Linked DNA regions of Homo sapiens: regions 1, 2, 3, 4, 6 and 7 are each linked to region 5. Evidence: promoter capture Hi-C in 16 types of primary human blood cells and fetal thymus (Javierre and others, 2016). All regions are on one chromosome and are shown on one strand. The core of a region is centred on a gene start or on the middle of the fragment in contact, and the rest is flanking DNA. Distances in the headings are between cores, read along the strand shown.

The links. Contacts are between HindIII fragments. The CHiCAGO score rates a contact against its expected background, and 5 or more counts as called.
Region 1: a contact is called between a fragment that was not itself captured here and the fragment with the promoter of PRKD3 in region 5, in 1 of 17 cell types (M1 macrophages). The highest score is 5.9, in M1 macrophages.
Region 2: a contact is called between a fragment that was not itself captured here and the fragment with the promoter of PRKD3 in region 5, in 3 of 17 cell types (M2 macrophages, total CD8 T cells and activated CD4 T cells). The highest score is 7.5, in M2 macrophages.
Region 3: a contact is called between a fragment that was not itself captured here and the fragment with the promoter of PRKD3 in region 5, in 12 of 17 cell types (M0 macrophages, M2 macrophages, endothelial precursors and 9 more). The highest score is 9.8, in M0 macrophages.
Region 4: a fragment that was not itself captured here is called in contact with the fragment with the promoter of PRKD3 in region 5 in 15 of 17 cell types (total B cells, naive B cells, naive CD8 T cells and 12 more); the score reaches 14.9 in total B cells.
Region 6: a fragment that was not itself captured here is called in contact with the fragment with the promoter of PRKD3 in region 5 in 3 of 17 cell types (naive B cells, naive CD4 T cells and non-activated CD4 T cells); the score reaches 6.6 in naive B cells.
Region 7: a contact is called between a fragment that was not itself captured here and the fragment with the promoter of PRKD3 in region 5, in 12 of 17 cell types (M1 macrophages, fetal thymus, total CD8 T cells and 9 more). The highest score is 9.0, in M1 macrophages.

What each region holds. Positions count from the first base shown.
Region 1 is chr2:37,948,147-37,952,149 of GRCh38, forward strand. The region is part of intron 2 of RMDN2 (regulator of microtubule dynamics 2); the gene reads left to right. RMDN2-AS1 (RMDN2 antisense RNA 1) reads right to left here. Exons shown (of 4, transcript NR_102712.1): 4 at 2,188-2,391. Among named protein-coding and RNA genes, the nearest start is that of RMDN2, 25 kb to the left of the region's middle. The HindIII fragment of the contact is 2,386 bases long and covers 125-2,510 here.
Region 2 is chr2:37,911,264-37,915,282 of GRCh38, forward strand. No RefSeq gene overlaps it. Among named protein-coding and RNA genes, the nearest start is that of RMDN2, 12 kb to the right of the region's middle. The HindIII fragment of the contact is 203 bases long and covers 1,472-1,674 here.
Region 3 is chr2:37,862,991-37,866,761 of GRCh38, forward strand. It overlaps PIRAT1 (PU.1 (SPI1) induced regulator of S100A8 and S100A9 alarmin transcription 1), which reads right to left. Exons shown (of 4, transcript NR_110012.1): 2 at 2,124-2,288. Among named protein-coding and RNA genes, the nearest start is that of PIRAT1, 11 kb to the right of the region's middle. The HindIII fragment of the contact is 3,994 bases long and covers 519-3,771 here.
Region 4 is chr2:37,843,761-37,848,075 of GRCh38, forward strand. The region is part of intron 2 of PIRAT1 (PU.1 (SPI1) induced regulator of S100A8 and S100A9 alarmin transcription 1); the gene reads right to left. Among named protein-coding and RNA genes, the nearest start is that of PIRAT1, 30 kb to the right of the region's middle. The HindIII fragment of the contact is 1,412 bases long and covers 2,317-3,728 here.
Region 5 is chr2:37,323,177-37,327,145 of GRCh38, forward strand. It overlaps PRKD3 (protein kinase D3), which reads right to left and starts at 1,657. Exons shown (of 19, transcript NM_005813.6): 1 at 1,505-1,657. It overlaps PRKD3-DT (PRKD3 divergent transcript), which reads left to right and starts at 1,905. Exons shown (of 2, transcript NR_183394.1): 1 at 1,905-2,346; 2 at 3,301-3,588. RefSeq lists an enhancer at 668-747 and a silencer at 1,388-2,017. The HindIII fragment of the contact is 7,598 bases long and covers 8-3,969 here.
Region 6 is chr2:37,927,146-37,931,115 of GRCh38, forward strand. RMDN2 (regulator of microtubule dynamics 2) reads left to right here. Exons shown (of 11, transcript NM_001170791.3): 2 at 2,117-2,584. The coding sequence starts at 2,133. Among named protein-coding and RNA genes, the nearest start is that of RMDN2, 3.8 kb to the left of the region's middle. The HindIII fragment of the contact is 4,176 bases long and covers 633-3,970 here.
Region 7 is chr2:37,883,929-37,887,783 of GRCh38, forward strand. No RefSeq gene overlaps it. Among named protein-coding and RNA genes, the nearest start is that of PIRAT1, 10 kb to the left of the region's middle. The HindIII fragment of the contact is 1,007 bases long and covers 2,000-3,006 here.

The sequences.
Region 1 (4,003 bases), core at 68-2,567, 620 kb after region 5:
TGGGAAATGCATGTTCTTAGGACATACCCCGGACCTAGCGAATCAGAATGTCTGGGAGCAGTGCTCAGGAATCTGCATTTTAAGAAGCTCTGTGGGTGACTCTTATACACCCTAACATTTGAGAAGCTTTGTTCTAGAAGATTTTCTAACATCCACATGAGCAATCATGATGAAATTTTTGTTGTAATGAGTGGTAATTATGGTTACAGATAAACAAAAGGTTCATTGGGCACAGTGAGTATAATGATGGAATACTGACCTAGGTGAGAATAGAGTGGCTGTTGCAGAAAAGGAGGAGGGTTGGGTGGCCATAGGGCATGATAAAAGCAGAAGGTACCTGGGGTCATGGAATTGATAATAAAGAGAATTGGGAATGAATTGAAGGACGAACATGTTTTAGATGCTTGTCATTATAAGGGGTTACTATTTGCTTTTGGGCTAAGTCTAATTTTGGTTCTCTTAAAAAGCCAAAAGGAGGCAATTTGCAGACATTTAGAGGGTTAGGTAAGTTCTTCACCTAGAACGATATTAATCAGCTTCTAGATATTTCCTGTACTGGTATGAGATTTCTTTTCTGATGTCTGAGCAGATCTGGATCTTCTTCCTCATCCCCCAAATGCGCACACACCTAAACACCGTTTTTTGTGTCTGCATAATCATAGATTTGCTTGAATAAGGTCGGGGGAGTGATCTGACCTCTTTATTACCTCGACTGAGCAGCAGTGATTGACAGTGTTGAGATTTAGTTACAAATAATTATTTCCTTTGGGGTAGCTCAGTGAGCAGATGCTTCTTTTAGAGGCCATTGGTGGGAGTGTTAAACAACAAGCTGGCCCAATTTTTCAAAGAAAAATTTTTTATAGAAACTTTATAAGCATTACGTATTATGTTCTTGCAATGTGCAAAAGAGATCCTTTTGGAAAATGACAATCAGACCTTAGTGCGGCTTAGGAACAAAAGACAGTAGTCTCACAAGAGAGGGAAAATGTAATAGATTGCTACAGAGACAGACAGTCCTCCTTGGGCTTCTTGTGCTCCCAGACATCTTGCTACATGAGCCATACATGTAAGGCCCTGATCATTCTTTATGTGGGCCATTTTTCAGGGTTCTGGTGAGCAACCTTGAAGAATGAGTTACTGTTTCCCTTCAGGACCAAGAGCAGGTTTAGCAGATTTGCTTACTACTTGCTATAGAAGTGGTAGATCATCTAAGCTCAGCGTTCTTTCCTGTAACACAATCCACTGTGAAGGCAAGTGTCCTTGGGCCCTCTGCATTGCCCCTGTGGCAATGTGGGACAAAGGAGAACTGATGTAAATGTCCTGGTGATTATGCTGCTTTGCTATGCTGTAAGTAACATAAGTCTTCTGTCTCTAACCCACGAATCTCATGTCTTCTGCCAGCATCCATGATACAGTAAGAGATTACTTTATTAGTTTGTATGTAAACTAAAATCAAATTACAAATCCGACCATTGTATGGTGAACGTTAGAGAGCTTTGGGTCTCTTAAAAGGAATTTGTTCAAGGGTTTCCTGCAGTAGGGTGTTAGGAAGGGAGCAAAGGCTAGAGGCGGTAGTAGTATTTAGGATCAGGAAATTGCACAGTAAATAAAAGTATTTGAGGGGGTGTTTCATGTCATAGGTAAGTATACACATACACGTATACCTGTTATGGGGACAATAGCCCAAATTGGTTTAGATAAGAAAGGACAGTGTTTCTTTTCTAATAACTCTATTAACCTTGCATTTAGGTGAGTATCAGTTGTTCTGAGGAGTGATAAATAGTGCCACAGCATATCCCCGTAATCTGTGCAAATGGCCCAAGCAGTCAGATGGCATACTTTACTGCCAAGGTGAACGATGCTTGTTTCCTTTGTGGTGGCAATGACATTTGCTACTTATTAAACTTTTTTTCCCTTCTCAATGTATCTTTAGGCCAAAGTCTCTAACATTTGCTTTTCCGTATCACTGAAGGATGCAAAAATCTGGGGTAAAGAATGTTCAAGTGAAAGAAGAAGGAGTTAGTAGTACAGGGGTGTGGAAGGCAGCTGGTGAGAGAGATGGTCCAAGGTGAGAGAGATGGTCCAAGGTAAAGGATTGTACAGCTGTCATATATGTTATTGTCCTTATCCAGCTGTTTTCCCACCCCTGGATTTGTTGGATGACTCCTCCAACAGTGAAGGTAGAAACACATTCCACAGCCATGTGAATTCCAACTTCGGAGAAAGGTGAGCTACAGAACAGTTCTAATATAAACTGATGTCATGAGATTCTAGAGTCTGCTGTCATCACATTCTGTGTTATTGCCATGTTAACTCCACATGCAGCTTGAGCATTCAGTCTTCTGACCTGTTCCACCTCTACAGGGCATTTTATGGCTTAAGGATGACGGCCTAGAAGGGAAGGGAGAGACTTACTTTGGATTAAATTTACAATGGGAAAGTGCTTAAGGTAAGCCTTAGAAAAAAACTTCAACATGTGCTAAAAGAACATTGAAAATATTCATAAACGAAGCTTTAGTGCTCTCCTTTGTTTCCCATAATAACTGGATATCCTGGACTGTCCAGATATTCACTTGAAACATTCTCCCCAGAGAGATTGTGCTTCATCCATGGTTAATATTTTAAAATACAATTAGTCAACAGAATATAAGTTTATTCTCCTTAACTCATTTAAATACAGTAGTTAGTAATCTCCAACAGATATTGTGGTTTATTACCTTTAAAACCAGTTCTATCTTTTCCTTTGGGAATCTTTTTGTTCTGGTATCCTTGCATATGTTTCCCCTGATCTTTCTTTCTACCTGCTTCCCTGATTTTTTCAACTTCTCTTCCCAAGGTTTAATAGAGTGGGTAGGTACTGTGTAGGTAGAGATAACCTCTTAGACTCCCGCATTCTTTTGGGTACATCTGTGTGACCATTAACTTAAGCTCCCCTATTCTTCTTATTCCCTGCTGTTTTCATATTAGTATGGAAACAATACCAATTGGTGGACACCAAAAGGTGGATATTATTCTTCAGGAGGCTTGGCAGGTCTCCACTCTGCTCCCTATTTTTTTTCCTCATTTGACCCTTTTCTCACTCTTAGCTGCTGCAAAGAGGACCAGAGCTTCCAACGATGTTCTCCAGAAGATCAAGTTAGTACAGACGCCCAGCATCGTGGAGCCTCTTCTATTTCACAACCAAGTATATCTCTTGGTCATAAAACATCTTATTCCCCTGTAACACATAAAGTCAATGCAGCCAAAGCAAGTAGAAGGTTATTATCTGTATCAAGTCCATCTTTCTCTGAAAGAAGATATTCTTTATTTGTTGGATTTCAAAAAAGAAATGCTTCCCCTTACTGGCAACAAAGTAGAGCTAACTTTGATTCTGAAGAAGACACAGGCTTCACTGATATAAAATCTTCCTCAGACCATTGTGGTAGCTTTATTTCCCGCAGAAGACGTTTCTCATCCCGTAAACTAAGTATAGTTTCCTATTACAAGAGTGCCATTTTTTTTGATCCTCAAGCAAGTGGCCAGAATGTGTTTAATCTAAATGAAATCGAAATCTTTTCTAAAACTTCAAGTAATACTGATGCTAAAAAACATATAACCATCTCTGCTCCTGAATATAACACTAAAAATTTTAAGAATTTTGAAACAAACACTACTTCTCCAGCCTTTGGGAACACTATTGATACAGCCTCCTATCAACAAAGCACATCATCCTTCTTTTCTCTTGCAAGTGATATTTCCTCTCCCGATCAACAAAATGGAATTGCCAATGATATTCAACAAAGGGGCCAATTATGTAAAGATTTAAAAGATTTCCTTCATCCTCGTCCTGAAAGTTACAGCACAGATCATTCTCCAATCATGATTCCACAGCATCCCTCTCAAAGTGGAACTTTCCCATTCCTCCATAAAGCTGGATTTTCTTCATCTTATAAAAATTCTGGTTGCTTTATCCCACCTCAAAGCGAATTAACTTCAGGCCTGTTTGAAGATGAAGACTTTGCTG
Region 2 (4,019 bases), core at 323-2,822, 590 kb after region 5:
ATAGCATCTTTAAAACAGTGAATCTTTGTGTCCAAGAATATAGTATGGCTTTTCATTCATTTCAGCCTTCCTTTATGTTTCTCAATACGGCTTTAACTTTTTCATGTAGACCCAGCACATTTTCTATTACTGTAATGAGGCTCCATGGTACAGTGGATACAAGCAGGGACTCTGGGGCTAGACAGGGCAAATTCCAGCTCTAGCACTTCCTGGCCAAGTGACCTTGGGCAACTGCATAGCCTCTAACCACCTCAGTTTTCTCATCTCTAAAACGGGAACAACAGTACTTATATCATAGGTTTGTTATGAGCATTAATAATACGTTGTCTGTTACATGGGAATCACTTAGCAAAGTGTCTAGTTCATTGCAGTCGTTATCATCATCATAAAGAAAACTTTACATAACTGTATGAAAAGGCTAGCAACCAACAGAAAAATTGTTGGTGAGCATTTTAAAATTGTGCAATATGTGGAGGGTAATTAGGCAATAACTACCACAATTTTAAACACTGATCTCTTTGACTCAGGAATTCCAGTTCTAAAAATGTTACCTACATATTTAAAGAACTAAATTGTTAATACCCTCCAATAAAGACCATCAGGGACACACCTGTAGCTGATTGTGGGTTGTCTCAGTAAGATGATATTAGAATGAGCAGATTATAGAATTTGGGTTTTAGTTGGATAGTTTTAGAGAGGTTCCACAGAACACTCTTGATACCGTCAGAAAGGAAGCAATTCAGTCATTGGGTATCTCAGTAAATCTTATCTATAGGGAAGGCAGGCAAGAGCTAGGATAAAGCTGTAACTAGTAAAGAATTAGCAGTCACTCATTTATTAAGAGAGGCAGGTGTTTGGCATTTTGTATTGCACAGCATCCTTGTCAGAACTGGATGTTCTATGAAAACAGTATGGGTTAGCTATAAGCATCACATTAGTTTATAATAACATTGAGGCCTACTACATCAGATCTGTTCCTGGATGACAGGCACTGATTTTATTTTTTCTTTCTTGTAATGTACTTGCAATGAGTCATTGTTTTTCATAGCCAGTGATGGAAATAACTTAGAGGTCTATTAATTCAGAGGCTAGTTAAAAATTACGGTATATTCTCACAATGAAATAGTTATCAAAATGAACTAGTCATTAAGTGAAAAAAATTGCAGAACATTATATGGTTTAAACAGTATATATAACATACACACGTGTTTATACATCATAGAAATTTGCATTCATATGCAAAAATATTGTACACTCAAAATCTTAACAATGTTTACCTCTGGAAAGCAGGATCCAGTGAAAAGGACAGGGTGCTTTATCTCTTTAATTAATGTACTTCTATTTGTTTTAAAATCTAAATGCTGAATTATTTTATTGATAAAAATGTCTTTAAATTATGATAAGCAAATATGGCTGGTTTTAAATTTTCAGTAACGGAATTCTTCTTGATTTGAAGTGCAAGCAATCCCAAAGCTTGCTCATGAATGCTATTATGTTGTAAAAATAAATTAATTTAATTTGGCCATTCCTCCGGGGACCTATTTGATTCAGGTAACAGTTCCCAGAGAATGCTGACAAGGAGATAATTTTTTCCATCTTTCCTTTGGGTGTAATATTAGCATTGGGGTTTCTGAAAGTCATTAAGGTAACTAATTGCTACTGAATTATATATTAAGCTTGGAAGAGAGTGAATCCATTCCTTCTTCCTATACAGATGAATATCAATAGTCATAAGGAATGAAAACCAAGACAACTGGATTTTAACAGGGAGGTGAGTCAAGTTCTTATGGTGAACTCCAAATATTTCAGAAATAGAGTCCTCTAATGTCAGTTCATTTATACATATGTAACACTGTGATGGTTAATATTGAGTATCAACTTGATTGGATTGAAGGATGCAAAGTATTGTTCTGGGGTGTGTCTCTAAGGGTGTTGCCAAAGGAAATTAACATTTGAGTCAGTGGACCGGGAAAGGCAGACTCACCCTCAATCTGGGTGGGCACCATCTAATCAGCTACCAGCACGGCTAGAATAAAGCAGGCAGAAGAAGGTGGAAAGACTTGACTTGCTGAGTCTTCTGGCCTTCCTCTTTCTCCCATGCTGGATGCTTCCTGCCCTCGAATATCAGACTCCAAGTTCTTCAGCTTTTGGACTCTTGGACTTAACACCAGTGATTTGCCAGGGGCTCTCAGGCCTTTGGCCACAGACTGAAGGCTGCACTGTCACCCTCCCTGCTTTTTAGGTTTTGGGACTTGGGCTGGCTTCTTTGCTCTTCAGCTTGCAAATGGCCTATCGTGGGACTTCACCTTGTGATCATGTGAGTCAATTCTTCTAATAAACTCCCCTTCATTTATACATATATCCTATTAGTTCTGTCCCTTTAGAGAATCCTAATAAACACATGGAATGAATTTATTTCTCCAAACTGCTGTCAATTATGCTCTATCAAATTCCCTTTTCCTACTGCATGGTGGGTTTCCTTGACCATGTGTCAGCCTGACTCCAGTCAGGAAATGTATGGAAATGTAGCCCAGTCAGCATCTCAATCATCTCAATCTCCAGTTCAGCAGCTCTCTCCCCTCACTCTAGATCAGGTTAGCCATATTCTCCATCACTCCTCTCCATCTTCACTGTCTTCACCTTCTCCCTTTCCTGCTCCTCTGCTATCAGTGCAGGTAGGAGGAGAAGGAGAAAAGACGGTTCCTCAGGTGGCTGCCCAGGGCATGCCGGGTGCCCTGTTTCTGGTTGGTTGCGATGCTCCCCTTAACCTGAAGAGTTGGGGATGGAGGTGGTCAGTGGGGGCATTCAGGTCCTGTATCCTTTCTCTTAGTCAGCACAGCTGATCTAATTCATGGAATCCTTGTACCCTGGGTGTGGACAGGTGGAGGGTACAAGTGGCCCTGACAGTGTGGACACATCCAAAATAGCACTCCTAAGCAATGGCAATCTCTTTCAAACCTTTTCAATCACCACCCAGGGGAAGGCAAAAAGCCACACTTTTGTGACTGCACATGCCCTTCCCCCCCTCCCTATAATGGCCCCCCAGCATTTCTGCAGCCCTCAGTCACATCTACCACCCTTGTGAGTGTGGGTACTGATAAGATCTATCTTCAGTATTTCTTGGGAACATTACTCTCTCCACTTGGTCACACTACTTGCCATTCTCCCCAGGGCGCTTCCTAGACTACAAGGCCTAGGTGCAGGAGAGCGAGCCCTGACTCCGCAGGCCTCCGACAGGAGATGTAGAGGATAGATCCCCTTCTTTCTTGCACTATCAGCAATTCTCTGGGCAAACACCCAACTCTTCACAAGCCCCACAGGTAGAAGAGGGCAGCTAGCTTCTCTTTTATAAGCACTGCCCTCTACTAGGGGGTTATTTCTTCCTGCACAGACCTGAGAACCAAGTTGGAGTGTGTGTTATTGGGGAAGGGGTCTGCTGGCAGTTGCTGAGATGACCCGTCTCCACAAGCCCATAGGGAAGTAGGTGTTGTTCTTTCAACTTACGGGCTGGTTATTTAGCAGTTCTTGTTTTCAGCTAAGGGTAGCATAATCAATCCCAGGAAAAACAAGAATGGACTCCTTTAGCATCTTTGCTCTTTCTGGGGGTTCAGGATCCCTATACTCTTTTTCTCTATCTGCTCAGTACCATCCTTTTGGTAAGATCCCCTCAGTGACTTGTCTCCAATTCTAGTTCTGCTTCTGATACAGGTTTCTCTGACACCCTGTTTGCAGTGTTTTTAGATGGCTTTTTTTTTTTTTTTTTTTGAGTTGGAGTCTCTGCCTGTGGCCCAGGCTGGAGTGCAGTGGCGTGATCTTGGCTCACTACAACCTCTGCCTCCTAGGTTCAAGCAATTCTCTGCCTCAGCCCCCTGAGTAGCTAGGATTAGAGGTGCCCGCCACCATACCCAGCTAATTTTTGTATTTTTACTAGAGATGGGGTTTCACCATCTTGGCCAGGCTGGTCTTGAACTCCTGACCTCGTGATCCACCTGCCTTGTCCTCCCAAAGTGCTGGGATTA
Region 3 (3,771 bases), core at 1,266-3,765, 540 kb after region 5:
CCCTCCTCCTCATCCTGGCAGGCCCCTGGCCCTCCCAGATGACCATCAGACATCTCTAACATTCCCTCCTGACCTTGACCTCCACTGCATCAGCACTGTCCTTGCTGCCCCAACCCTCTCTGGCCTCTCTCTTGAGCTGCCAAACACTGAGGAGAACAGTCGCAGGGCTGTGCTGACTGAAGCCACTGACACGGGCTATCGAGCCTGCAGATGACCCTCACGGCTGCTGGACAATCCTTTGGACAAGATTCATGAATTTTCAGGCATCTCTCAGATTGGCTCCCCAAGTCTTTCCCATTCTCCTCAAGTCCCCACCCAAGCCTCATTCCCTCAGGTTGTCCTCTCACTCTCCTGAGACACCGAGCCATAGACATGACCTTTCTCCATGTCTCTCCTTTTGAAGCTTCAGTCATTCATTTTTTCCTCCTGTCTCTGAGGATGACACCCTCATCTTTCTTGTCCTGGGCCCCCTCTGTAACTTTGCTCCAATCATCCTCCCTTCTGATTTTTTGTTTTAAAGCTTCCCTCTCCCTTGGCTTTGTTCTCTCTACCTAGAAGTGAGCACAGGTGCTCCGTTGCTCACAAGGCAACAAGAAAAAGTCCTTTTACCTCTTTGACCCCCTCTCTTTACCTTCAAATGTATTCAAAGAGCAAGAGTAACCCACCATCTGTTTTTCATGGCTTCATGATTGTCCATTCCAATGGCTTTGATCCACCTTTCTTATCTGTGACTGTCCCAGTATTGGACTCCATTAACAACCTCCCCAACCCCACCCTCTTTCTGGAAAGGTCTCCCTCAATTTCTGTGAGGTTGTGCTCCGTTGCTCTCTGCCCCGCATTCTCTCCAAAAGCTCCTCCATCACTTCTTCCCGGCTCCTCTCTCTCCTCCTGTGCAAACACATAGGGGTCTCCCTACTCTCTGCCCTCAGCCCTCACCATGTAATCCCTGCACTTGGCCTTTCTGTCGTCTCTCCTCTCCTGCCCCATCTCTGTGTAGCATTCTCTGGATCTGTCCCCTGCTCCAAGCCTTGGGGACAAAAAGCTGGTCCCAAATATTCAACCAGCTGGCAATCTGATGCCTTCTGCTGCCACAAATCTCTGTACCCCAAACGACACTTATTCCTTCCCATAATCCCTCAGCCAGATCCTACCACTGACTTCACACTTTTCCTCGTGTTCTGCCTCAACATTTTATGTGGCCTTTGACTCTTCCGTGCCCACCTCCAGTCAGTCACCGAGCCAAGAAAATCCAAGAAGACAGACCCCCTCCTGTTTCCACTGGCCTCACCATTGAACAAACACTTATTATGTTCAAATATAATATATTTTCTATATAATGTATAATACGTTTATTATATTTAAATATATATTTTATATAATGTATAATTTATTAAATTTTATATATTCATATATTTTCTATCTTTTATTTATAAATATTATATGACATATTTCTATATTTAAATATTAATTTATTACACATTTATGTATAACTTTGTGTCATATAATATATTTAATATATAAATTATATTTTTAACACATATAAATATACCATGAAACATTTCATACATGAACATAAATGATGTTACACTGTCATGGTTCCCAGTCTCTGTGCTGAGGCACCCAGGACACCACAGTGAAATCACAGAGGCTTCACAGCGTATATCAGTTTTCAAGGGACAATACACAATCTACGACTTTTAAGATTTGGGGACCTAACAACCTACACAGGTATTTAGTTTTGTCTTGGGACACTGAAAAATTTGTTGAGACACTAAGGGCTTTATGATCTGAGAGAGTTTGTGAAACTCAGGTATCTAGGTTTCAAAAAATACAATGGCCACCCGTGTTCCTACAAGGCAGCTCAGGAATAGAGCACTTAAATACCTGGAAGCCCTCTGATGTTCCATCCCTAATTACATCATCTGCACCTGCCCACCCTTCCAGAACTGATTACTGGTCTGAATTTTTGCATTTACAATTCCCTTGCTTTTCTTTATAGTTTTTATTGCAGTTGTCTGTGTTCTTAAAACATATAGGCAGATATGCATATTGTTTAGATTTGCATGTCAACCTTCATCACATTTTTCACTGAATGTTACCTATCTCCTGGCTAATTTTCCTACCTCTTAGTTGATCTTCTTGCCATTGCATGTACTTTTTTAGTATGCGATCAGGTCTCTTCACTGCTCAACAGTCTTCAGGGACTCCCCGTCCACTACTGAATCAATTCCCTTGGCATTCTCTGCTTCACCAAGTCCCTTAATTTCTCTGAATCCCAGCTTCCTTATCTGTAAAATAGGAGTGACGATACCCATCTTACAGTATTGTTTTTAAGGATCAAGCGAGACAATCCTGTAACATGCTTACAATGGGGTCTGACACATAGTAGGAAGCACAGTATGTTGGAGCTCTTATTATTATTATTATTTTTATTACTCCTCCCTGAGCCGTTATTTTTTTTCATGATTATTACTCCTCCATGAACTTTTCCCTTAGACATAGCACAGTGCCCTGAACACAGTGAATGTTCAGGAAACATTTGTTGAATGTGAAATAAACTGATCTCCATCAACTCACGTGCAAGTTGGTAATGCCCAGAAAAGGAGCTCTTATTAATGGGTCTTTGAAGAACCCCCAGAGGGAGGCCAATATTGCCTATTTTGGAAGGAGAGGGGAGGACATTGATACTTTCTCTTGCTAAGGAGAGTAAATAAGATGTAATGGGGTCTTTAAAACATTTTTATAGCAGTGTGTGGGCATGGGCTTGGTCTGAGCTGCTCCCAGCTGGCTTTTGTCAAGCGTTGGCTGCCTCAAAGCAGAGCAGCCTGCTCGGGAGGACCGCAGGATTCGCTGGGGCCCCAGCTGGAGGGAGGGAACCCATTCCTCTGATGTGCACAGTTGTCTCAAGCCTGGAACCCATTCCTTGCTCAGATGCCAAAAAACTATTTTGGATCCTGTAGAGCTGGCAGGAGTCCCTAGTATGCCATGTCTCCGTGTGTGAAGTGCTTGTCACTTGCTTCTTCCCTTGGGGCTATTTCAAAGAAGATGGAAGAAATTAATGGCTGTAAATGACTAAGGCCCTCGAGTTATGGTTTTATTGATGCATAATTTTGACAGGTTGTCTCCTTATTGAGAAACGGCATGTTTCTGATCTTTTGAGAAAGATTATTCTCGCTAATCTGAGAAGGGGTGCCATGCATGATGCTGGAAAAGGACAACATGTAATCAGTCTTAGCAAAAACACATCCCCACAGGCCTGTGGTCCCTGCAGAACCACTTCATCTTTAATTTGCTGTGTTTTCTCAGTAGGTTCTCATTCCTGCCTCTCCATTACCACTGCCTGATCTTCAAACTTGCAAAGGAAAGTCACCATTTGTTCTCTAGGAGTGTCATGTTTTAAAACTATGCACATACTAAAAAGCAGAAAAACTTGCATACATGTGCAATTATGTCAACGTAAGTGCACATTTATGTGAATATATTCTGTACATAAGGTAAAAAAAAATAGGATAGTGTTCTATGATAAGAAATGCATATTGACTACCCAAACAATGATTAAAGTTTATCTATCTTCTGCCTTGGGTAGCACAGAGTGACTTATCAAATGTCAATGGTTACACTAACATTTACTTTAGCAGAGAGATAATTACAAGAGCTGAAAAGCCTATTGAAACCATCAGAGTGTCCACACATCAGCTGGTTTCCATCCAAACCAGTTTATAATCTAAAGCAGGAATGTCTTTCCTTTAGATGCGACTAAGGTCACAACCT
Region 4 (4,315 bases), core at 1,773-4,272, 520 kb after region 5:
GCTGCCTTTTAAATAGATGATTCACTTGCTTGTGGAGAATTTCAATAATTTTTTGGTAACAGTTCTTGGTTTTCAGACAGAAAACCTTCCTATGGAAGGATATCTTTCAAATTTTTGAGACTCACAAACTTTGACCAGAGAATAATTCTCTAGGGAGCTAATGCCAGGTTCTGCTTCTCCTTATTTCATTTTTTTTTTCTTTCTAAGAACGTATCTCAGGCCCTTTTGATTGAAACCAATTCTTCTGTGAAGTAGGAAAACTATCTTTAGAATTTACTCAAGTCTACGACTTAATTTTTTGGAAAAGATCTATGATATAGGCAACATTTGGAAGCCATGCTTCTTTAGATAGATAGAAATATGTAAGTAGGGGATTTTAATTTTTTATTTTACTTTTGAAACATAACAGAAATATACAGAAAACACACCATTGCTTCTTTTATTCCACACCTTTTTTTCTGGAGTATATCCTTTAGTAGGTCTTTCAACAATACTCTATTTAATGTCTCTCAGTTTTTCCCTGAAATGTCTATATTTTACCCTCACTCCTGAATAATTTAATTGGCTGTATATTTCTAGTATGATTTTTTCTAGTATTTCTAATATGATTTTTATTTTTTGCTCAGCATATTGATGTATTTGTCCATTGTCATCTGGTCTGTATGGTGGCTGTTAAGAAGTCTATGATAAGTCTAAATATTCCTTTTTTAGATAAATTGTCTGTCATCTTGGATGGCTTTTAAGTTATTCTCTTCTTATTAGTGGTCTGCATTTCCACTCCAAAGCATCTAGCTGTGAATTTAACTTTATTTTTCCTCTTTGGGACTTGTGCTTCTTGTCTCAGGGCTTATGTCATCAATTATGGAAATTCCCAGTCATTAGGGTTTGTTTGTTTTTCAGAGACAGGATCTCACTCAATTGCCCAGGCTGGAGTGAAGTGGTGCCATCATAGTTCCTGCAGCCTCCAACTCCTCTCACTATGTTGCCCAGGCTGGTCTCAAACTCTTGGCCTCAAGCAATCCTTCTGCCTTGGTCTCCCAAAGTGCTGGGATTACAGGCATGACCCACCATGCCTGGCCTCATTCGTCTTTTAAATCTTAACTTTCCCCTATTCCCTTTCCTTTTCATATTCTGAAACTCTTATTAGGCATAGGTTAGCCATCTTATTTTTTCCACCATGCTTTTAATGTCTATTTATTAGTTTTAGTCTCTATCTCTATGATAATTCTGGACAACTCTTTAGATAGATCTTCTAATTTCCTGATTCTTCATCTTTATCTTCTCTACCATTTTATTGAGTCATTGCATTCTTAATACTAACTGATTTTTTATTGTACTTCTAGAAATTCTATTTTCATTTTGTTGTTACTTTCTTACGCTTCTGATTATACCCTTAATTATTTACATACACATATTTTAAAGTCTCTAGTCAATTGTTCTATTATCTCAAGTATTTGCACCTCCAATCCTCCCGTTAGCTGGATCTGTTTATTTTCACTCATGTTGGATTTTTTTAAACTTCCTCTGTTTTATAATTTTTGACCATCAGTTCATCCTTAGTGGGGCTTGTTTTCATGCAAGAATCCCCTGCAGCTATGGGAGCATCCATCCATGGATTTTTCATGTGTTTTACAGGCGTCCCATGGGCATCACTGGCTCTGGTTTTGAGGTTCCTGGGGTAACATATATTTGAACCACTAATTTGAGAGAAGGTTAGGCCTGGGATTTGCATTTTGCAGGATGCTTTTATTCACTCATAGCCAGATGAGTTTCCCTATGATCATCTGGGCCACTGGCAAAATGTTTTCTGTTTTTTTGTTTTGTTTTGTTTTGTTTTTGTTTTGAGATGGAGTTTCACTCTGTCACCCAGGCTGGAGTGCAGTGGTGCGATGTTGACTCACTGCAACCTCCACCTCCCTGGTTGAAAGAATTCCCCTCCCTCAGCCTCCCAAGTAGCTGGGATTACAGGCACATGCCACCACGCCCAGATAATTTTTTTGTATTTTTAGTACAGACGGTGCTTCAGCATGTTGGCCAGACCAGTCTCGAACTCCTGACCTCAGGCAATCCGCCCGCCTCGGCCTCCCAAAGTGCTGGGATTATAGGCATGAGCCACCATGCCCAGCAGGTACAATGTTTTCTAGTCTAACCTTTCAGTGGTGTCCTTTGAGAGTCCAGGCTTTACGTAGCCATCTCAGCACCTTTTGTAGACACGCAATCTTGTCTCTGTCCCTCCATAGCCATTAAAATCCAAGCCAGGAAAGTATCTGACCAACTCCTGACGCCTCCCCACACTGGCTGAAATATCAACACAGAAGCTTGCCTTCCTAGTTTGAATTTTCTTTTTTCCTTTGGCACCCAAGTATTTCCCATTCTTTCCTGAAACTTGAAGCAGAAATAAAAGAACTTCCACAATGTTCCATTTCATATCTACTCACCTGCCACAACTGTGCTCTACCTTTCCTCTCATTACTATGGATGAACCATCTGTGCCTATAGGGCCATTCCTTATACTTGTACACCAGCTCCCATTCCCTCTCACCTGTTCAAGGACACCACTCTTGTAATTCTCCGTTCTCTCCCTCTCTCTGTCTCTCTCTTTCTCCTCTCTCTGTCTCTGTCCTCCTCTCTGTCTCTCTCTTTCTCCTCTCCCTCTCTCTTTCTCCTCTCTCTGTCTCTCTCTTTCTCCTCTCCCTGTCTCTCTCTCTCTCACTCTCTCTCTCTCTCTCTCTCTCACTCTCTCTCTCTCTCTCCTGCACTAATTTTCCTCTTGTTCTTGGATTACTCCTATCAGCATGCTGGTATTTCTATTATTATTTTTTTTTTTTCTGAAAAAAAAAAAAAAAAAAAAAGAAAGAAACCTCAGTTTATCTTTCCACCCATCTAGTGTCCCACTTCTCTTGTTACAGAAAATTTCTCAAAGTTTTTGCCTCTAATTCCTCTCCTTCATTCCCCTTTTACACTCATTCCAATCAAACCTTTGTCCTCACCATTCCACCAAAAGTACTCTTTCAAGTTCACCAATGACCTCCACATTGCTAATTCAATTCTCGGTCATTATCTTACTTGACCTAGTAGCATAATGTGAAGTAATAGATGATTCCCTTCCCCTGGAAATCCTTTAATCTTGCTATGTTTAGGACTCTGCATTTTGTTTGTTTTCCTTCTTTCACATCAGTCACTTCTCAGTCTCATTTGCTATTTATTCCTTTTCTCCCCAAACTCTGGAGTACCTCAGAGTTCAGTCCTTGGATGTCTTCTCTTTTCTAGCCCTATTCAGTTTACTGATGATCCCATCCAGTCTGAAGCGTTTAAAGGCCCTTTGTAAGTTAACAACTCCCAAATGTATACCTGTAGCTTGTATCTCACTCCTAAGTTTCAAATTTATATATCAAACTGTCCACTCAACATCTCCAGTGGGCTGTGTAGTAGACTTTTCAAATATATCTTGTCCAAAAATGACCTCCTGCTATTTCTTATCAATCATGCTCTTCCCCATCTTAGTTAATGGCAGCTCCATCCTTCTGATAGTTCAGGCAAAAACCTTGGAGTCACTGTTGACTTCTTCCCCTCCCCTTGGATCTGAAAATAAAGCTCTGGAATCAGGGCAGTTGTTCCACTCAAATGAATAAAATGGTATGAACACAGAACAAAGGGAGCCTATGTTCTGTTAGGAAGGGGTAAGAGAACAAATAAGTGTGACATGAAACTGAACATGCCACATGGGAAGCTTAAAATGCTATATGGGTTGGAAGGTGGGAGAGCTAATGCCTAGAAATAGAGATTCTGATAGGCATCTAAAAGGCACAGGCTTCTGAGATGTTCTGAGATGTTCCTGAAAGTTGTGTATGATTGGATTACTTACAGTGGGGGTGAGTGGGAATTCCAGGCAGAAGGAGCAACTGAGCAAGACCCACATCTTCACAGTTAGCTCTGCCTTCCCCTGGAGTAGGACTCTTTCTGCCTACCCTGGCAATATGTCTCCTGGGAGCCCTTCGTAATGCCTGGACCCCAATTCCACCCCATCTTACCCGCCAACATAGATCAAATCACAGTTGCTCTGTTTCACCAACATTAACTTCCAAATTGTCTCTCACAGGCTTCCCGCTCTCAATTCATGTTACCCCCATCCCAGTCCACACTTCCTCTCCTATGTTGTGTCTCATTGCCTATCTCTTGGCCTTTGGGCTGCCTCCCCCTCTGTCCATTCTGTTCACTGCAGCCAGATTGACGGTAACAGCGATGATGACTCTTTTGAACAACATGTAAGAGCCTATTCTGCACCACGCCTTGCTCTCAAGGAGGCTTGTAATCA
Region 5 (3,969 bases), core at 407-2,906:
AACTGAAAGCTTAAAATTTTCTCTAAAAGACTTACCATTATCTAGGATGCTTAAAAAATTAGTTTTAAGATACACATCAGTCAACATTCTTAATGTGAAACGCTATATACTAAATTACAGAACCTGAGTCACCCTGAAATGTGAAATGCTATATACTAAATTATAGAACCGAGGATGGAACCTGGCTCGTCAAGGAGTACTCCAAGCTCATGCACTCAGGCCCACCACAACTGTATTACTACCTACTGAAGAAAAACCTTCCACGGTTTCTGTGTGACACGTTTCAAATCCTACTTTTAGAAAATCTTCTAACTTCTTGGCTGAATGTCCATGCTTGATCTTAACTCGGAATCTAACAGGGAAGGAAGCAAGGGTTCGTTGACAAGGAAAAACTGGCCTAGATCTCAGTCGGGGGAACTTTATGGACGCCTTCTGCAGCAAAGCTAAGGAAAATGAAAATCGCTAAAAATGTAAGAACGACGACATTAAGTAGAAGGGTAAAAAAAAAGTTTCAGAGGAATAAAATAACATTTTCTAGGATACAAATTAAGGCATTTAAAAGTTCTTGTTCCATTTGTGGCTATGTCTCATAAAAGCTGTGTCGCACCAAGCAGCAGTTCAGGGTGTAACTTATCCTTCCTAATCAAAGATGACACCGATAGTCTTATTTCCTGTGGGGATGGGTGTGATTGAAGACACAGTTACGTCCATGCCATCAATCTGTGTGTGGAAAAGTCGGCAGGTCGCGCGCACACACTTGTCGCTTGAATCGTATGTGTGCCTGCAGACGGCAAGGCCTATGCCTCTGACTGCGTTCACCTGAAATAAAATACCCAACCGGCAATACAGTAGTATATGGTTATTTTCACTGCTCAAAGAAACAGTGGCACTCCTCAGTGTTTCAGCTTAAGGAAAACCTCCCAGGAGGGAGCAACTCGGAACAATGCTGCAACTAGCAAATCCAAACGCAGTCGGGATACTGGGGCGAGGGGCTTACATTCTCCAAGCACCATTTACTCACCCCTTTGAGACGACTACAACGCAAAGTGAGGAAATGAAACGAAAAAGCTGGTCCAAAATTCGGCACTGCGAGCGCCGCGGGTCTGGCTTCGGGAACTAGTTTGGGAGACCCGGGAACGGATCGCCTCCGATGGGCCGGGCGCGGTGGTCTCCAGCGGAGCGCGAACCCAAGTTGCCCTCCGCGCGGACGCCGGAACTTGGCCCCTCTGGCGGCTGCGGCGGCGCCCCCGCTCCCCCTCAGCCGCCCACCTCCCGCCGCGCGCTCCCCCAACTTCCCGCCCAGCGCGGCTGACACCGCCCAGCCCGGCGCGGGGTCCGAGTCCTGTCGCCGCCGCCGCCGCGTGCAGTTGGGGGGTTGGGGGTTTGGGGGATGGGGGAGGGGCCGCCGCCGCCTCAGCCCGACGGGCCGGGAGAACAAAGCGGCGGCGGCGGCGGCGCGAACTTTTTCGGTGTCTGTTCAGCGCTCCCCGAGGCGACTACTTACAGTGGCAGGCTCGGCCCGTCGTGAGAAACTGCGCCCGCCAGCGTCTGAGTACCGGACGAGGCGCCAGCGAGGCTTCACGCGCCTCGCAGGATCCCGCCCGCCTCCGGCGCCCCTTCCTCCCTCCCTCCCCGTCCCGTCCTGGGGCCGGAGGGCGGGGGGCCGGGGCGCGCGGGGGGCGGGGGCGCGCGGCCAGCGCGGGGCCTGCCGGGAGCTGTAGTTCCTCGGCCCGCGCCCGCCGGGAGGTGGCCGCGGCGGGAGGTCGGGGTTGTCTCTGCCCCGCGAAGGGGCGCCGGGAGCGCCGGGTACAGTCGGGCTGGCTCCGCACCCTCGAGTTCCGGGCGTCTTCGTGAGCGCGGGGGCACGGGGCAGGGGCGCCGCGGGAGTCGCGAGCGTGTCTATCAGTTACACGCGGTACTTGATCGCGCTGTTGCCGACGGTACTGTCTTTTCCTCTACTGCCGTGCACTCTTGAGGGAGGCGGTGGCGACAATGGGCCAGAGGTGATAGTTGGAACGGGGGACTTGTAAGGCGTCCAGAGCAGAGAGCTGCTTCCACCCTGAGATGTCACAGCCCTCCCGCATGCTCCTCCCTGCTGCCTGCCCCCGGGGTGGCCGCCGGCACCGCAGCTCGGCGCCCAAACCGGCACGTCCCAAGCCCGACGTTCCGGTGACTGCAGGGGTTTTCCCGGTGCTCGGTGTTTCCTCCCCGTCGGCCTTTAAACGCGAATGTGACCCTACCACCAAAGTGGAGTGCAGTCCAGAATCACCAAACCTGGGCTTCCAGGTGTCTGGAAACACAATGTTAACATTTGTTTTGCTCCAAAACAAAGTATGACCGTGTCGGGTGAGTGGGGCGGGAGTGGGAGTCAGCAGCATAAGGATCTAGAGGGAAAATACACTGTGCATAAATTTTCGATGTCTTATGTGAGAGAAAGGCCTGAGAAGCTGACAGGCATTGTCACAGAAGCCACATGATTCTCCTTATGTCAACATTTTATCCCAAAAGTACTTAAATATATTGAAACAATCAGAGGGACTACAATCAAGAGGGCAGTTTTCTTTCTTCTCTCTTTTTCTTTCTTTTCCCCTTTCTCTCTTTCTTCTTTCTCTCTAGAAAAGGTTTTACTCTGTCATCCAGGCTGAAGTGCAGTGACACGATCATAGCTCACTGCAGCCTGGAGCTGCTGGGCTCAAGTGATTATCCTGCGTCAGCCTCCCAAGCAGCTGGGACTACAGGCGTGTGCCACCACGCCCCACTAACTTTTAAGTTAGTTTTTGTAGAGACGAGGTCTCTTGCTGTGTTACCCAGGCTGGTCTCCTGACCTCAAGAGATCCGCCCGCCTCGGCCCTCCAAATCGTTGGGATTACAGGCGTGAGACACCGCGCCCAGCCAAGAGGGCAGTTTTCAAGAATAGAAAGAAAAATAAACATAAATTAGCCCCTACTTTTGATACAAAATCATCACTCTTAATGGATGTCCTCGGATTTAAAGTTAAGAAATGAAAATATTAAGATAATTTATATTAAACATAAGGCAGGTAAGATTGTGTAAAACCTTGATTACTTTATTTAAAAATCTATTTAAAAAAAGATTTCTGAAACATTCTCAGGAATTGGAAGTTGCTAAATGTCTTACATCCAGCAGTATCTAATTCAATCTTACTATATTTTTGTTATTAGAGTCCTATTCAGCTATTCTTTTACTTTAAAATTGAAAGTAGATTTACTCAAGTTTGCCTTCTTTTTAAAGGACTCTCTTGCTTAACTTTGCCCTTTTCTTCCTTTCACTTCCCAACAGACGTTTTAGTCCAGCCCCAAATTTTGCCTCTGAGCAAGATTCCCAGGACCTCATTGGAGCAGTTTACAGCCAGTCTTATCTCACTATTAACTTCCATTTTCTGCTGTAGTACTTAAAGTGACAGAAGTTACTCTTCCTAGAAGTAACTTTTCCAGACGATTCAAACTGCTGTTATACAGAGATTTAAGTATTTGTGTGCATGTGTGAAAACAGAGATATGTAATGTATATATTTCATTTTATTTCCACTGTTCTGCTTCTCTTTTTAAAAATAAAGCGGTCTCCTCCACTTTGGGTAAATCTTTCAGCACATTTGATCAAAGAACTATCTTTGTATCTAATTTTTTGCTTAACATGAACTACAGTTTCCTCAAGGTGTTCCATTCCTGAGCATTACAGAGATAAAGATTGAATTTAATAAATAAGTGTATTGCCATGTGAAATGTTTTAATCCTTGAGAGAAAATATAATCTGAATGCTCAAAATGGAAAGGATTTTTCTTCTTGCTGGTGTTTTATGAAAACGAGCTTACAATATTGCTCTTCTATGGCTGCAGTTGGAGAGCTTGTCCCGCATTATTGGGCTCCTTGTACTTAATGACACACAACATAGCCATTCAAATATGTTACCTAATGCAAGCAAAGAAAGTCAACACTCTTGTGACTTGAGA
Region 6 (3,970 bases), core at 1,471-3,970, 610 kb after region 5:
CTATTTTTTTCTAGTTAATTTTTGTGGTTCTGAAATAATATTTCAGCTTTGAGCATCTCTGTTCAGTCAGTACTCTCCTTCACCTCCTTGTTGATGCTTTCCAAATCTCCCACATGTTGTGGGTGCATCCAAGAGTTAGGAACAGGTTGTCAAAGGTGACAGTTTTCACTTCCCAGTTGGGTGATCACTGGGTAAGTGACTTGACACCTGTGTGCCTCAGTTCACTTATCTGCAAAATAATAATAGGACCTGCATGGAAGAGATGATTTGGAATTGGTGCAGTTCCTAAAGAAAGGGCCAAGCAAAATAAGACTTTCCCACCTGCTGAAACCTGGTCCTGTCTCAAGAATAAGTTCTCCTTCCTAGGTAGATTTTTACTTCTACTTATTTGCTTATTAAATGAAAATATTTTCAAACTAGGCTATATTTCTTAATGTAAAAGTCCAAGGTATGGGCAAAAGAAAGCAATCAGAATAGGAAGATTTCCTTTAATAGACCTCTATATCAGCGAATGGACATCCTGCCTGAATAATTTTATTGACAAAAATAAAGATGATTAAACTTGATGTGTGAATATTAGCTGGAATGCAGTTGTAATTAATGGGCATAGAGTGACTTATTTTTTTGCAATAAGCTTTCAAGATAATTTAGTTTTGTGATACAATTTTTTTGTAGAATACATTTACACATCTAGCAATAATTAGCTACAATTTCAGCTGAAGTTACAAATTGATTGGAATCTGTTGCTGGCATGTCTCCTGGATGAGCTGGGAGTGGGCAGATGGTTATAGTTCCCAGTTATACCAATTAGGTGAAAAAAAATTTTTTTAAGTTAATTCCAGGCAAATTTCTGTGAGGTAAAGCAGGCCAGATTAAGTACCAAGGCTTTCTCTGGAATCTTTGGTTTAAAAGAAGGAATTCTTAAATCTCTTGGATATAATATTCACTAACACCTGAGGTAATTTCTGGAAGATTATTTTAAAGTCAGTCCTTCTCTTTGACACTTAGGCCTGTAATGAAGTGTAGAACATCCAAACAGGATACTTTCTGTGTTCCAGGCATATACTCTAGTGAAATAGGAATCCAAAGACGTTCTTATTTTAAGCAGGCTTTTCAGAAATAGATTATGGCTGCTTGTTCTCTCAGACCCTCTTCCATAGGGCATTTGCGAGCCCAGAAATCCTAACCAGTAGACCACCAAGGAAGCATTTGAAACATTACATTTAGTTGGCCATTTGAAGTGTAAGAAACAATGCTTGGTAGAATATGTGGAATCACAGGATATAAAGCAGAGGATGGTGAATTTCGGGTATACAACCTAATTCAGAATTTTCATCTTACTGATATTTTTTCCCCAATTCACACTCCCAGCTATTTACTTTGCTTCCTATCTTCACTTCCTATCTTAGAACAGTGAAGCAATCAAAGAGAGCTTGCATAACCTCCCACCACTGCATCTACCCACCTATTTAAATCTCTGCTCACATAATCTGCCTTTTATGACTATGAATGAATGGTTTATGTTCCCATCAAAGGTCAACTCCTGTGCTTGTGCGATAGAGCCCACCTCCTTTGCCTTCTCAAGTTTATTGCTATGCAGTTTTCTATATGTCTACTTCATCAATTTTTCTTTTCTTTTTATGGACTCTTTTCTGTTGGCAAAAAAAACCTGTTATTTCTTGATCTTTTGGCACCATTTTCGCACTTAATAATGGCGTAATTTCTCTTCTATTTGTTTTCTATTTGCCCATCTGTTCTTTTTTCTCCTTTTCCTGCCTTCTTTTGGACCAAGTGAGTATCTTTAGTGTTCCATTTTTATCTCTATTATTGTCTTGATATGTATTGCCTGGGGTTTTTTTGTTTGTTTGTTTTTTAGTGGTTATTCTAGGGTTTACAGCTATGCATCTTTAACTTAATATGATAATTCTTCATTGTAATCTAAGACTCTTACAACAGTATACTTCCATTTGTCCTTTCCCACCCTTTGGGCTATTGTCCTACTTTTTGTAAATCCTGTGATGTAAACTTGGCTTTTGTTGATTGAAAAAGCACCTATATTTTTGTCTTGGACAAAGACATAAACAACATTCATTTACATTTATGTTTTTAATTTTAGAAACGAAAACCAAGAAATGCCTTATTCCACAAACAAAGAGTTGATACTTGGCATCATGGTGGGCACTGCTGGAATCAGCTTGCTGCTCTTGTGGTACCACAAGGTCCGTAAACCAGGGATAGCAATGAAGTTACCTGAATTTCTTTCTCTGGGTAATACATTTAATTCAATAACTTTGCAAGATGAAATACATGATGACCAAGGAACAACAGTAATCTTTCAAGAAAGGCAACTTCAGATACTGGAGAAGTTAAACGAATTACTGACAAATATGGAAGAACTCAAAGAGGAAATCAGATTTCTTAAAGAAGCTATTCCAAAGCTGGAGGAATATATACAAGATGAACTTGGAGGGAAAATAACTGTTCATAAGATAAGCCCTCAGCACAGAGCGAGAAAAAGAAGACTCCCCACAATTCAAAGTTCAGCAACAAGTAATAGTTCAGAGGAAGCAGAAAGTGAAGGAGGGTAAGTTTCTTTAAGATATTTCCTATGTTGAATTGGTTATTATCATTATTACTATTATTTAGGTATTTTCATTATGGGTTCCAGTCATATATCCTGCTGCTCACATAAAATGAAAAGGAGTGATATTTTGACTTAGATTATAATTAAAGTCATATTCAGTAGTCAGTATTTAAGCTAGTTTAGACCATATTGACAAAAGGAATATAAAAAACTTACTGGTAGCAGGTGGTATTATGTGAATATTGAGGAAGGCAGTAATTACTTGCCAAAGTGTATAACCTACTGTTTTAATGTAGCCACTCTGACTCCTTCTGAGAATTCTCTAGACCACTCCTGTTCAAAAGAACTTTCCGCAGTGATGGAAATGGTCCAAGTCTGTGCTGCCCAATGTGGTAGCCACTAGCCCCCTCTGGCCACAAAGCACATGAAATGTGGCTAATGCAACTGAGGAACTGAATTTTCCTTTTATGTCATTGAAGTTGTAATTTTATTTAATTGTAATTAAATTTAAATAGCCACTTGGGCTACTGGCTACTGAATTTTAGTGCAGGTCAAAAAAGACTTGAGAGTATATAGGTGACTCTGTCTCATCTTTGCATGGGTTAATCCAGTGGCTAGGTCTCTTTTCTTTTCTTTTTTTCCTTGCAGAAACCCTCAGCTCACCCGAGGGCCAATGGAAATTTATTAATTTTTTTGTCCTTTTCCATCCTTCCCCAAGTGGCTTTTCCTTGCAAAATGCCTGACATGACACCAGAGGGGAACCTGGGAGCGAGGGGCACCCCAAGGGGCAGCCCAGGGACTTAAATACAAGCTGGAGGGCAGGGCGCAGGTGGGACAGGCAAGAGACAGCACGAGGGACATGGCTTCTCAGGGAGACCAAAGACTTACTTTCTTGCAGGAAGCAGCCGTGCCAGAGGGCAGGGGACTAGGATCCTGGGTGCAGAGTGGGTGAGCAGAGAGGCCCCCAACCCTGGATGGAACCCACATTCCCCAAAGAAGTAGCAGCAGGGGATGAGGGCCTTCCCTGGTGGACTCCAGAGACAGAGGGGAGAGTGAGCCAGATGTGCTGCCTCAGGGAAAGGGAGGAGGTGCTAGCAGAGTGAGGGTTAAGGCTGGTGCCCAGCCTCTGGCACGGTGGGCCTTCCGCCTCCGCCTGACATGAGGACAAAGGGGCACAGTGGGCAGGCAGCGCATGGGTCTGTCTCTGGCAGGGCAGAGGGCGGCAGGAGCAGACTCCCTCCAGGCTCAAGACACAGGCCCAGCGCTGCTACCCACCCACCCACCCGCCGACTAGGTCTCTTTTCTGAGTCACAGTTTCAAATGATTTAAGATTATTTTAGATTCCTTCTGAATATTTTCCTTCCCTATTTTAAAACCAGTCAACAA
Region 7 (3,855 bases), core at 1,253-3,752, 560 kb after region 5:
GGACAGTCAGACTTGCTTACTTGTTTGATGTCTTCAATATTTTTAATGATCATGGTATTTCCATGCAAGGAAGGGAAGCAGCATGCTCTTCAAAGGTAGACAAAGGGCAAACACAAAAGTTAGGAGCTTGGAATCAGAGTTTCTACATATTGGGATGACAATAGTTACCATACAGTTACTATAATAATCTCATTAGAGCACACCTGAGGAAAGTAATTGTCACGCATCTTATGCATTTTATAGAATGTTTTCAATATATCCATCCAAAAGAGTCATACACAGGAAATTCATGTATGTAAAATCTATTTCTTTTATTAAATGATAGTTGAAATATTCCACTGTAACAAGTAAAGAAAATATTCGAACTATTTTTTTTCTTTTTTGAGATGGGGTCTCTCTGTCACCCAGGCTGGAGTGCAATGGCATGATCTCGGCTCACTGCAACCTCTGCCTCCCAGTCAAGCGATTCTCCTGCCTCAGGTTCCCGAGTAGCTGGGATTACAGGCACCCACCACCACACCCAGCTAATTTTTTTGTTTTTTTAGTAGAGACGGGGTTTCACTATGTTGGTCAGGCTGGTCTCAAACTCCTGACCTCAGGTGATCCACCTGTCTTGGCCCCCCAAAGTGCTGGGATTACAGGCGTGAGCCACCACACCCGGCCCATTTTTAAATTAATTTTGATTGATGTTTAATGTTCAAAATGTCAGTAGAAGGTACACATAATTCATAAATAAATAGGCCTATACTGGCAATGTGGGCCCCAGTAGTTTTTGCTGATTGAGGTGTGCTATCATCAAAATTTGGAGTCTCTTGATTTAGAAGATAGAAATATCAGAATATTTTAGCTGATGTGATTAAAAATTTGATTTCATTCTTTAATTTCCCCTTAGTTGAGTCCTTCTGATTATGTTCTTCCATATGTCTATATGAAAAGAGAACGTTAAAGATACAGACTTTGAATCACAGTTCCAGACTGATGATCATGCTTTCTCATGATAAATTAATAAAGTGGTTTCTGATTACGACTCACTTTGCCATATAGTAAGTACAGAAAATTGTAAACAGTCCAGTCCATTTTTTCTCACTAAGAAGAGTAGTTGACATTTGGTGTTGACCTCCGTCTCCTACACTTGGTCTCTAGCCTGAGTTGGTCTCTCAGACTCTGATGAATCTGACGCCTTACCTGTGGGGATCTTGGTCAGGAACCCCTCAGTAAAGCACCTGCCACTGAGGGTCTTCTTTTGAACCAGCAGTTCTCAGACTGTATTTTTATCCCACCCCATCCCCACTGCATAGTTCTGCTTTAGTCCATTTTACATTTTCAGCTTTGGCATAAGATTTCCTTCTAAGAACAGTTGGAAGCTAGTGCCTTGCTTTGCTGCCACCATTTGCATCTGCTCTCAATGCTGAGCTCTCTGGTTTCATCTAATATTACCTGCAAACCTACAAAGACACGTCTTTTCTCAGATGGGTGTGTGTCTTTACTAGCCTTTATTTGTCTACCTCCACATCAGCCTGAGGTGCTCCCTGCCCCACAACCTCCCCTCAGCATCTCAGAATTCCTGGAATCCCTCTGGCAACACCTTTGTCAGTTTCCGCCTGTGGCATCCTTAAAGCCAGAGCTCTCCATTGTGTGTGCCTTCTGTAGACTCCAGCAGAGCTCTTTCTACATAGAAATACATAGTTACTTTCAGTGGCCAACACCACAATTACTTTTGCACCAACTGAATAGCTTCCAACTCCCCTAAAGACTCCCTCCAACCTCCTCCTCCCTACCCTCACTGCTCAGACTCTTTCTGTCCCTCTCAATTCTCCCTGGATCATCCCATGATACAACAACTGAAGGGTTAATGCCTGCCCTGGCAGGGGACTTCAGACCCTTCCTAGCCCTACTGCCTTGCAAATCACTCCCGCTGCTTAAATAGCATTGAGAGAGGCATAAGATTAAGGTAATTAACATTTGCTGAACCCTCTAAGGGAAGGAATTATGGAGGTGAAGCTTTTGACATCACCTAGGCATGCTCTGAGCTTTTCTACATGGATCTTCCTCTGTGGAGGAAGAAACTAAATAGCTTTTCATGTGGTTTCATGATTTTATGATCTTTTTGTCTGCCATATACAAAAAGAGATGAAGATATTTTTATTATTTCAGTGGCTGGCCGATAATACCCTCTTCACAGGAATCTCATACTTGTTGGAAAAATCCTCAATAGGGCCACTAGAGCAGGTGAGTCTCTGAGGGGGTGGGGAGGGTGGTAGTGGATCTTAGCTGGTGCTAAGACCGTCTGGAAAGGGCACACAGTGCAAGGAGACAGGATCATTTGCTCTCTTGTGAAGGAGTGGAGATGAGGTTAGGAAGTGGGGGAGGGAAGAGAGGAGAAAGGAGAGCACAGGAGGTGGCAGAATGTGGAATACGATGTCATATAACTCCCTGGGACTTCTCTGTGACATCACTAGCTTTGTGAGATGATTAAGAGAAAGACCAGTTACAGAAATTTCCGAGGAGTCGAAGTTTCCAGATTGAAGGCAGATGAAACAATATTCATGAATGCAGGAGTCCAGTAGAGTCCCAATAGAAAGTTTTCCAAATCCCCAAATGGCAGGGGAGGTCTCAGCTGGCATCTAGGTTCCACAGTTAATCACTTTAAGTCAGTTTTCATATCTAAATAAATATAACTTGCTTGCTTTACTCATTTTCAAATTTTGGGAGGAGACTGTACCAAGTACCTTTTTGGTCCTCCTCAACTCAAGACATCCTAATTCCTTTGATGCTCTAAATTACAGGTTCCCAAAGTCTGGTCTTTGAAAGCTCTCCAAGTGGTCTGTGGGTTGCTCAAATGCAATGGGAAGGTTTTGTTAGAAGAGGATTTTCTACTAGAGATTTGAATTCTCCATAAAAGGGTACAGAAATAGATATTTGAAAATTATAACCACAAAGATGGTCACATGCTAGGCAGACACTTCAAATGGTGTGGGGTGTGTGTGTTCTGTGGTTGCAAGCAGAAGCTTTGAGGTAGGCGGTCCAAGAGATTCCTTCAGCATGGTTCACAGTCTGAAGTCTCATTTAGGATGAAGTTAAGCCAAACTCTTACAGGGCCATTAAGAAATCAAAGCATGCCGGGCCCGGTGGCTCACACCTGTAATCCCAGCACTGTGGGAGGCCGAGGCAGGTGGATCACTTGCGGTCAGGAGTTCAAGATCAGCCTGGTCAACATGGTGAAACCCCATCTCTATTAAAAATACAAAAATTAGCAGGGTATGGTGGCATGTGCCTGTAATCCCAGCTGCTTGGGAGGCTGAGGCAGGAGAATCGCTGGAACCCAGGAGGCAGAGGATGCAGTGAGCCAAGATTGTACCACTGCACACCAGCCTGGGTGACAGAACGAGACTCTGCATCTCAAAAACAAACAACAACAACACAACAACAACAACAACAAAAAGAAATCAAACCACTTTGTTTGAGAGTCTTTAAAACAGGTATTTATAACTGACACCTCAACTGGGAAAACATCTTGACCCTAAACCTTTGCAATTTCGTTTCTGACCACAGTGGAGGGATGTCTTGGCCACATCACCCTCATATCCAATTTTATATCTAGTAATATAAACAACTACTCAGCTTTGAAGTTTAATGCCGAGTCATATTTTAGGGGATGGTTTGGAAAGAGACTGGCTAGGAAATCCTTCCTCAGAAGGGGTTTTTGTTTGTTTGTTTGTGTTGTTGTTTTGGTTTTGCGTTGTTTTTTTTTTTTAGACAGGATCTTGCTCTGTCACCCACGCTGGAGTGAAGTGGCATGATATTGGTTCATTGCAGCCTCGACCTCCCAGGCTTAAGCAATCCTCCTACCTCAGC